3 separate regions of the Homo sapiens genome follow, and all the other regions are linked to region 2. The links are contacts of gene promoters, found by promoter capture Hi-C in human tissues and cell types (Jung and others, 2019). All regions are on one chromosome and are shown on one strand. The core of a region is centred on a gene start or on the middle of the fragment in contact, and the rest is flanking DNA. Distances in the headings are between cores, read along the strand shown. Region 1 holds the start of SNORA30 (small nucleolar RNA, H/ACA box 30). Region 2 holds the start of PPP4C (protein phosphatase 4 catalytic subunit). Region 3 has its middle 17 kb from the start of FBRS.

The links. The method cuts DNA at HindIII sites, captures the fragments that hold promoters and counts their contacts. A contact is called where the count stands out against the background at its distance.
Region 1: a fragment that was not itself captured here is called in contact with the fragment with the promoter of PPP4C in region 2 in 2 of the 25 tissues and cell types used here (bladder and spleen).
Region 3: a contact is called between a fragment that was not itself captured here and the fragment with the promoter of PPP4C in region 2, in 1 of the 25 tissues and cell types used here (spleen).

What each region holds. Positions count from the first base shown.
Region 1 is chr16:30,709,710-30,713,041 of GRCh38, forward strand. SRCAP (Snf2 related CREBBP activator protein) reads left to right here. Exons shown (of 34, transcript NM_006662.3): 7 at 1-26; 8 at 142-419; 9 at 1,045-1,138; 10 at 1,290-1,379; 11 at 1,862-2,035; 12 at 2,126-2,448; 13 at 2,553-2,730; 14 at 2,970-3,106. It overlaps SNORA30 (small nucleolar RNA, H/ACA box 30), which reads left to right and starts at 828; the gene lies at 828-956. The HindIII fragment of the contact is 4,122 bases long and covers 1-3,332 here.
Region 2 is chr16:30,074,456-30,077,811 of GRCh38, forward strand. It overlaps PPP4C (protein phosphatase 4 catalytic subunit), which reads left to right and starts at 1,539. Exons shown (of 9, transcript NM_002720.3): 1 at 1,539-1,639; 2 at 1,860-2,020. The coding sequence starts at 1,923. RefSeq lists enhancers at 261-440, 2,063-2,152 and a silencer at 1,813-1,952. The HindIII fragment of the contact is 17,066 bases long and covers 1-3,001 here.
Region 3 is chr16:30,673,248-30,676,826 of GRCh38, forward strand. It overlaps the pseudogene RNU6-416P. Among named protein-coding and RNA genes, the nearest start is that of FBRS, 17 kb to the left of the region's middle. The HindIII fragment of the contact is 5,104 bases long and covers 1-3,579 here.

The DNA of each region.
Region 1 (3,332 bases), core at 231-2,730, 640 kb after region 2:
CCCTGCTTCTCGCCTGGATGATGAAGGTGTGTGTTCTCTTTGGTCCTGTTACTCTTCCTCATGTACCCTTTCCAGAGCTGAAAAACCCACCCTGTGGCTTGCAGGGCCCGTGGACTTTGTGACCTTGTTCTCCTGCTATAGATGGGGACTTTCAACCCCAAGAGGATGAGGAAGAGGATGATGAGGAAACGATTGAAGTTGAAGAACAACAGGAAGGCAATGATGCAGAGGCCCAGAGGCGTGAGATTGAGCTGCTTCGCCGTGAGGGAGAATTGCCACTGGAAGAGCTGCTCCGTTCCCTTCCCCCTCAGCTGTTGGAAGGGCCTTCCAGCCCCTCTCAAACCCCCTCATCTCATGATAGTGACACCCGAGATGGGCCTGAAGAAGGTGCTGAAGAAGAGCCCCCTCAGGTGTTGGAGGTATAGGCAGAAGGAGCAGAGGGAGGGTTCAGAGGGGGAACAGAGGGAGAGGTTCAGGGTCTGAGTTCCGGGCTGTGAGGTTGGTTATGAGTTTTAGGAGTTCTGCTAGTAATGGACATTTGGGCTCTTTGGGGATGACTGGGGAAGAATCTGTTTGGGGCAAGTTGCATTTTGTGATTGGCAGGTTTTGGCGCTATAGTGGAAGAGCGTATTGCACTTTCCTCTTTAAATTGCTGTGTGGTCTTGAAAAAGTACTTCCTCTGACCGTTACTTGCCACTTCTCTGAACATGCCCTAATGTTCCCTTATTGGCTTACAGGTTGGAAGCTGGCATGGTACCCTTAAGTCTTTTCTGTTTCTCCATATGTCTCAAGTGCATGGGGAAGTGTTGGGTGCCTTTATTTGTTACCTGGCACTTTCACAGTTCCTTCCCCAGGCAGTGGGGCCAGGATTTGGTAGCTGGTGCTGAGAGAAAACCCTTGATTGTATTCTTGCCCTGGGATTATACCAGTGGCAACTGTCACTCAATGGGACAGTGATTCTCCTGTGACACCTTTTTCAAGTTTGTGCCATTCTTCTGCTACTGTAACCTTAGACCCTTCCCTTTTTTATCTTTTGCCATACAGATAAAGCCCCCACCCTCTGCTGTCACACAGCGCAACAAACAGCCTTGGCATCCAGATGAAGATGATGAAGAGTTTACTGCCAACGAAGAGGAAGGTCAGGGCTGTTCGGTTTGTCCTATTGCCCCTTACCCCTTGAATGAATTGTCTGGACCTAACCTTTCAGGCTTTCTCATCTGTTTCATTTGGACTGTGTCCTGTGCCTCTAGCCTCTATCCCTATTAATCTTGCTTCTGTCTCTTTCCTAGCGGAGGATGAAGAGGATACTATAGCAGCTGAGGAACAGTTGGAAGGGGAGGTGGATCATGCCATGGAGCTGAGCGAGTTGGCTCGAGAAGGTGACATTTACCAGACATTTTACTAAGCATCCACTTGGTGTCTGCGGTGTGCAGTACCAAGGATAAAGAGATGAATAAGGCACTTTGTATCCACCCTGGAGGAATTCCATGTCTAATGACTAAGACAGACTTGTAAACCAGTAATGATAAGTAGAAAGTGATGAGTGCTTATGATAGAAGTTTAAATGGTGATGTGGGAGTGAAATGGAGGGAAGAGCTAATGTAGGAAGATACTGACAGCATTTGACCTGGACCTTGAGAGGCTCACCAGGTTGATAATGTTCTTCCCAATTCCCATGGTACTTCCCCCAGGTTGTGGGGCTTGGCTTTGCTAGCTGATGCTGAAAGTAAGCTCTTTTGCCTCCCCTCAGACCTGGGCCTAGCAGTATCTACAGAGACCTAGGTAAAATTAACTGGTACTACTCAGACCTCCCCTTCTCCCTCCCCTCAGAGCAACCAAAAGCTTTTTGTTTCTCTTCCAGGTGAGCTTTCCATGGAGGAGCTATTGCAGCAGTATGCAGGAGCCTATGCCCCAGGCTCTGGGAGCAGTGAAGATGAGGATGAAGATGAGGTTGATGCTAATAGCTCTGACTGTGAACCAGAGGGGCCCGTGGAAGCGGAAGAGCCTCCTCAGGAGGATAGTAGCAGTCAGTCAGGTGAATATGTGGTCATGAAGCAGGAGCTGGGGAGGGTGGCCATTGGAAGAGCAGGTATGATGAGCAGTAAGCCTTGGTCTTACCCTTTAGACTCTGTGGAGGACCGGAGTGAGGATGAGGAAGATGAACATTCAGAGGAGGAAGAAACAAGTGGAAGTTCAGCATCAGAGGAATCTGAGTCTGAAGAGTCTGAGGATGCCCAATCACAGAGCCAAGCAGATGAAGAGGAGGAAGATGATGATTTTGGGGTGGAGTACTTGCTTGCCAGGGATGAAGAGCAGAGTGAGGCAGATGCAGGCAGTGGGCCTCCTACTCCAGGGCCCACTACTCTAGGTCCAAAGAAAGAAATTACTGACATTGCTGCAGCAGCTGAAAGTCTCCAGCCCAAGGGTTACACGCTGGCCACGACCCAGGTATCCCCAGGTTCTGGCCTCTCCTTTCTCATGTCTTGACTTTCTCATGTCCCCACAACAAATGCCTCATTTCCATTGTGTTACCTATATTTCCTCTCTGACAGGTAAAGACGCCCATTCCCCTGCTTCTGCGGGGCCAGCTCCGGGAGTACCAGCACATTGGGCTAGACTGGCTGGTTACCATGTATGAGAAGAAGCTTAATGGCATTCTTGCTGATGAGATGGGGCTTGGGAAGACCATCCAGACCATCTCTCTGCTTGCCCACTTGGCTTGTGAGAAAGGTAAGTAGGCAAGGCCCCTTCTTTTGTTCCCCCTAGTCTAGCTCCCTGGGAGCTTGTTCAGTGATGACTCCAGCTTCATTGACTTTTGCTTTATTGACTCCGGTCATTAACTGTATAGAGAGGACAGTGTAGGTGCTAGGATTCCTAGGAAGGGCCAAAGGGTGGCCAGGGTTATAACTGAGAAATCAGAACCACAGAATTTACATTTCCTTACCATCTCTGATTTTTTTGCCTAACAGGTAACTGGGGTCCCCATTTAATCATTGTTCCCACCAGCGTGATGTTGAACTGGGAGATGGAGTTGAAACGGTGGTGCCCCAGCTTTAAAATCCTCACTTACTATGGAGCCCAGAAAGAGAGGAAGCTCAAGCGGCAGGTTCGATGTTTCATGTGGTCACTTTCCTCCCATTGATGCCTCCTTTATTTTTAAGCCCTTTCCTCAGGTGAATTCCTTTCTCTCCTCTTTCTTTTTTAAAAAAAATTTTTTAATTTTTTGTAAAAATAAAGATGGGGTCTCACTATGTTACCCAAGCTGACCTTGAACACCTGGGCTCAAGAGATCCTCCCACCTCAACCTCCCAAAGTACTGAGACTATAGCTGT
Region 2 (3,356 bases), core at 289-2,788:
GCGGAGGTTGCAGTGAGCCGAGATTGTGCCACTGCACTCCAGTCGGGGTGAAAAAGCAAGACTCCGTCTCAAAAAAAAAAAAAAAAAAAAAAAAAGAGGCCGGGCACGGTGGTACACGCCTGTGGTACAGCACTTTGGGAGGCTGAGGCAGGTGGATCATGAGGTCAGGAGATCGAGACCATCCTGGCTAACACGGTGAAACCCCGTCTCCACTAAAAAATACAAAAAAATTAGCCGGGCCTGGTGGCGGGCGCCTGTAGTCCCAGCTATTCAGGAGGCAGAGGCAAGAGAATGGCGTGAACCCGGGAGGCGGAGCTTGCAGTGAGCCGAGATGGCGCCACTGGACTGCAGCCTGGGCGACAGAGCGAGAGAGTGAGACTCTGTCTCAAAAAGAAAAACGGAAGCAACTAAGAAATGTCAAGAGTGCCATTTTGGAATCAGAGAAGTCATGCTGACTGAGGCACAGGCTTGGCGTGGGAAAAGTGGACTCCAATCTGTTAACTTCTGAAGTTGTCCACGGCAAATATTTCTCTGACGGCACAGGAAGAGATCTGAACTTGGCTTCCCTCATCCATTGAACAAGTATTAACAAGTATCTATATATGCCTACCGTGCCAGGCCTTATTCTAACCACTGGGGCTGCAATATTTAAAAAGACAAAGTTGGATCCTCCAAGGACTGTGGTGGGGAAGGCTGACAAAACAAGTAACAAAAATGTGTAACATTAAAAAAAAAGTGTAATGTTAAAAAAAAAAAGTGTAATAAAGTTACAAAGCCTAGCCCCAGCTCGGCTTGTTTCCCTAGCTGAAATGGGGGATGGCCGGGCGCGGTGGCTCACGCCTGTAATCCCAGCACTTTGGGAGGCCCGAGGCGGGAAGATAGCTTGTGCCCAGGAGTTCGAGGTCACAGTGACCTATGATAGCCCCACCGACTCCAGCCTGAGCGATAGAGCGAGACCCTGTCTCTAATTTAGAAAAAAGAAAGTTGTGGCCGGGCGCGGTGGCTCACGCCTGTAATCCCAGCACTTTGGGAGGCCGAAGGGTGGTGGTGGGTGGGGGCGCGGATCACCTGAGGTAGGGAGTTAGAGACCAGCCTGACCAACATGGAGAAACCCCGTCTCTATTAAAAATACAAAATTAGCCCAGCGTGGTAGCGCATGCCTGTAATCCCAGCTACTCAGGAGGCTGAGGCAGGAGAATTGCTGGAACCCGGGAGGCGGAAGTTGCGGTGAGCCGAGTTCGTGCCATTGCACCCCGGCCTGGGCAACAGCAAAACTCCGTCTCAAAAAAAGAAAAGACAGTTGTTTAAACATTTTTATGAAATGATATGGGAGGGGACTGGTCTAGGGTTTCTAATAGCCTCCACATCGCCCAGCGGCAGAGCCCACAAAACTGCCACTGGCCGCCACCGGGTTCCTCCACCTCCTTCCCGATCTCAGGCTGGAGAAGTGGTGCAGGGGTCGCTGCGAAAGGAGAGGAGCGTGTATGACGCCACATCCGGCGCGCGGCGGAACTGGCCTCCTTTGCTTCCGCGGCGGGGCCGGAAGTAGGAGCGGCGGCGGCGGCGGCGGCGGCGGTCGAAAGCGGAGTGAAAGAGGGAGGCAGGGAGCCGGAGAGCCGGAACCGGAGTCGCAGCGGCGGTAATAGTGCGAGACTCCTCTAAGTCACCGTCCTTAGCGCGGGACCGCGGGGTTCGACGGGAGTTAGCGGGGGTGCGGCCAGGCCGTTGGACGCCGGGGGGTCCTGGGGCCGATGTGAGGGGAGGCGGGGGTGGGGGAGCCGGGCCGGCTCTAGAATCGAGTTGTCCGCTCCGAGCCCCGGACGGACACTGATCCGCGGGCTCGTCTTGGCCTTTCCCAGGAGACCCCTGTGCGGTGCGGAGGGGGCGGCGGCCCCGACTCTGACCCGCGCCGGGGGTGGGCCATGGCGGAGATCAGCGACCTGGACCGGCAGATCGAGCAGCTGCGTCGCTGCGAGCTCATCAAGGAGAGCGAAGTCAAGGCCCTGTGCGCTAAGGCCAGGTGAGCTCGTTGGCCCTGGGGAAGGGAGGCCAAGCCGCCGCCCACGGGTTCTGGCCTGGGGCAAACCCAACTGAGAACTTTGGGCTTGCCTCGTTCTGGAAGCTTTCCCAGAGAGGAGCAGGATGGAGCCGCTGCCCTCGAGGAAAAGCTAGCCTGCTCGGGGAAGACAGAGTGGATAAAGACACTTAAAGTTTATTAGACGATGTGTTTCCAGTGGAGTAAGAGTGTTACATAAAGTACTTAGGAAACTCAAGGAAACAAGTCCATCTGTCGGGGGACGGAAGCTTGTTGGAGGGGGGCCGAACTGTGGGAGAGGCCTCGAATAAGGAGGTGGTAAAAGAGTCAGCCAAAAACCAAAAGTTTAAGACAGGAAAGTTAAAGACCCTGTGATTTATAAAAGTCTTCTAATTACAACAACCCTTAAAGATTGGTGGTATTGTACTCATTTTACAGGTGGGAACTTTCATGTTCAAAGTTACCCACAAGTAAGGAATGGGGTCTGAAGCCAGCTCTTAGTGTCCTGTCCTTTTTCAGGCCATAATGCAAAAAGGTGGAGTTGGATCATTCACGTTCAGGGTGGGAGCCTGAGAAATCGTAGCAAGTAAGCCAGGGTAGAATTAAGCACGATAGGGAGGCCAGTTCAGAGTTCTGTGGGAAGTAGGATGATGTAGTGGTTAAGGCTCTAGGTTTTGCAGTGTGAGATGGCTCTAGGTTTGAATCTGAACTCTGCCGCTTTCTAGCTGTGTTAGTAATCTTAAGTGTCTTTATTTGTAAAGCAGAATTAATAGTACTTAATAAGATGATTGTGAAGATTCAGTGAGTTGGTGCTGGAGATGAGGTTAGCACAGTGTTTTGGTACAGCATACGTGCTTGATAATCACCAGGTATTCTATTTCTTTTGGAAGAGGGCAATAATGAGATGGGCTAAAGCCATCAGGGAGGGCTTTTGAGTGGAGGTAGGCCTTGAAGGATGAAGATAATTTGGCTAGCTGATGGAGGCAGGGCCAGTGAGGGAAGGGCATTCCAAGCAGGACGAATGTAACAGTGGAGGCCCTGAGATGCGTGGGGAACAGTCAGGGGTTTAATTACCTGCCTCCTCTGGGGAACTGTGTGATTGTGGCTTCTACCAGGCTGGAGAATTGTGGCAGAAGAGCCCACAGAATTACCCTACGTTTATTGAACAGTAAACATTGGCCTTTACAGGGCCACTATTTGGCCTGGCCCGGTACTGGCAAAAAACTTCTATCCATCTCTTCCCCCCAGCAATCCTATGAGGTTGGAATCATTTGCTGCATTTTATCGAATAGGAAGCCATGACTCGTAGAGGTCTGGTGAC
Region 3 (3,579 bases), core at 887-3,386, 600 kb after region 2:
AGGTGTGAGCCACCACACCCAGACTTGTTTTGCTTTTGAGGCAGCTTTTGAGCAAAACAACAGCCGGTCTGTTGCCCAGGCTGGAGTACAGTGGTGCAATCACAGATCACTTCAGCCTCGAACTCCTATTCCCAAGTGATCCTCCTGCCTCAGCCTCTCGAGTAGCTGGAACTACAAGCCTGTGCCACCACATTTGGCTAGCTTTAAATTTTTGTAGAGACAGGGTTCTTGTCTTGTTGTCCAAGCTGGTCTCAAACTCCTGGTCCCAAGCAATCCTCCTGCCTCAACTTCTGAAAGCGCTGGAATTACAGGCGTGAGCCACTGTGCCTGGCCCATAAATGTACCTGTTGCCTTAGGAAAGATGCAGCCAACATTCCCTGCCACCACCACACATATCCAGGATGTCTAGGGAAGGCTCAAGCCTAGATTGCTCCAACAGAAGTCAGAAACAAGTGACCAGAAGGTGAACGTTGGCTTGCAGACAAGATTTCACATGGAAGTTCTTGTTTTCAGCTTCTCTTGAAAAATCCAAAAATCTGTGGTCACTAGACCTGCTTACCCCCATGGCTTTCCTTTGAAATGGGGCATAATCTCACCAGATTGCGACTGTCCCCTCCACTTGTTGTCTTGGAGTAGACCACAGTCACTATTCAGGCTACCTCTCTGGCCCCTATAGGCATTTGAGAGTGACTCTCAGTGAAATATTTTCTTTCTTTCTCTCTCTCTTTTTTTTTTTTTTAGACAGAGTCTTGCTCTGTTGTCCAGGCTGGAGTGCAGTGGCACAATCTCAGGTCACTGCAACCTGCGCCTCCCAGATTCAAGCGATTCTCCTGTCTCAGCCTCGCAAGTAGCTGGGATTACAGGCATGCAACACCATGCCTGGCTAATTTTTTGTATTTTTAGTAGAGACAGGAGTCACACTAAATGTTGGCCAGCCTCGTCTCGAACTCCTGACCTCAGGTGATCCGCCCGCCTCAGCCTCCCAAAATGCCGGGATTACAGGCGTGAGCCACCGTGCCCAGTAGAGTTAAATATTTTCTAGACATGCCTATCCCACCTCTCCTAGATCTCTCCCCAAGCACCTCAGATATCCCAAATTAAGTCATCTTCGAGATCTGATGCCCCACTTCCCCCAAGGTTTCCATCTCTGTGTCATCAGCACTCAAGTCAGAAACCTCCCTCTTCCCTCACTTGATGCAGTTTCTGAGCTGCCTTTGATTCTTTCAACCACTGTTGACTTCATCCACAGTGCCAGGCACTGCACTTAGTGGCTGGGGATACAGAGGTACACAAAACAAACCCCAGCCATCCTGGAGCTTACATTGGACTATGAAAGAGGACAATTACAGAAGCTAATGACAGAATTCCAAGGGCCAGGCGTGCCGTCTCTGCCTGTAATCTTTGGGAGGCTGAAGTAGGCAGATCACCTGAGGTCAGGAGTTCGAGACCAGCCTGGCCAACATGGTGAAACCCTGTCTCTATTATAAAAATACAAAAATTGCCAGGCGCGGTGGCTCACGCCTGTAATCCCAGCACTTTGGGAGGCCGAGGCAGGAGGATCACAAGGTCAGGAGATCAAGACCATCCTGGCTAACATGGTGAAACCCCGTCTCTACTAAAAATACAAAAAATTAGCCGGGCATGGTGGCGGGTGCCTGTAGTCCCAGCTACTCGGGAGGCTGAGGCAGGAGAATGGCGTGAACCCGGGAGGTGGAGCTTGCAGTGAGCCGAGATGGCGCCACTGCACTCTAGCCTGGGCGAGAGTGAGAGACTCCATCTCAAAAAAAAAAAAAAAAAATTAGCCAGGTGTGGTGGCACACACCTGTAATCCCAGCTACTCAGGAGGCTGAGGCAGGACAATCACTTGAACCTGGGAGGTGGAGGTTGCAGTGAGCCAGGATCGCTCCATTGCACTCCAGCCTGAGCGACAGAGCCAGACTCCATCTCAAAAAAGAAAAAAATTCATTTTTAATTTTTCTGGGTACATAGTAAGCGTATATATTTATGTGTTACAAGATATTTTGATACAATCATGCAATGTATAATAATCACAAAAATATGGAAAGCTTCACGAATTTGCAAGTCATCCTTGCTAAGGGGCCATGCTGACCTCTGTATAATGTTTTAGTATATGTGGCTGGGTGTGGTGGCCCACGCCTGTAATCCTAGCACTTTGGGAGGCCGAGGTGGGCGGATTGCCTGAGGCAGGAGCTTGAGACCAGCCTGGGCAACACGGTAAAACCCCGAAGTCCCTTCCTCACTCAGGCCGAGGCAGGCCCTTGAGCCCAGGAGTTCGAGACCAGCCTGAGCAACATGGTAAAACCCCGTCTCTATGAAAAATACAAAAATTAGGATGTGTCGGCCGCACGCCTGTAGTCCCAGCTACTTGGGAGACTGAGGCAAGAGGATCACTTGAGCCCAGGAGGTTGAGGCTACAGTGAGCAATGATGGCACCACTGCACTCCAGCCTGGGAGACAGAGCAAGACCTTGTCAAGAAAGAAAGAAAGAGAGAGAGAGAAGAGAGAGAGAGAGAGAGAGAGGAAGAGGAAAGTTATACATATACATGTTTGTTATTTAAAAGTAGAGATGGGAGCTGAGCACAATGGCTCTTGCCTCTAATCCCAGCACGTCAGTAACTGAGGCAGGAGGATCACTGGAGCTCAGGAGTTCAAGACCCGTCTTTATGTAAAAACAAAACCAAACACATGGCCAGGTGCAGTGGCTCACGCCTGTAATCCCAGCACTTTGGGAGGCCGAGGCAGGCGGATCACCTGAGATCAGGAATTTAAGACGAGTCTGGTCAACATGACGAAACCCCGACTCTACAAAAATATAAAAATTAGCTGGGCACAGTGGTGCACGACTGTAATCCCAGCTACTTGGGAGGCTGATGCATGAGTTGCTTGAAAACGGGAGGTGGAGGTTGCAGTGAGCCAAGATCGCACCACTGCACTCTAGCCTGGGCGACAGAGTGAGACTTCGTCTCAAAAACAAAAACAAAAACAACACAGATCTCTGTGGATAGACATTTAAGTTGTTTCTAGCATTTGTGTTATGACAAACAGGATTTCTGGAAGTATTTTTATTATTTTATTATTATTGCTGACATAAAATTCACATACCATGAAATGTACCTTTTAAAGTGTGCCATTGCAGTGGTTTTCGTATATTCACAAAGTCGTACAACCATTGCCATTATCTAATTCTGGAGCCATTCAGAAACACCCATTTTTTTATGGCCATGTGTGCATGTGTCAGAAGAAGGCACTCTTGGAGGTGCAGCTGATGGGTTGTACAACCACTGCCATTATCTAATCATGGAGACATTCAGAAACACCCATTTTGTATGGTTGTGTGTGCCTGTGTGAGCAGAAGGCACCTGTGGAGATGCAGCTGATGGGCTTTGGGGTGATGAGTCCTTCCAACGGAAAGAAAGCAGGGCCCAGAGGCTTGGGATCACCACATTACCCCTGCTACACTGAGCAATTTGCAATGACTGCCAGTCCCTCAGGAAAAGTTAGTTCTATCTGGATTTTTGCACATCGGATTTCCTTCAAGCAGGCTAGACCCTTAAATAT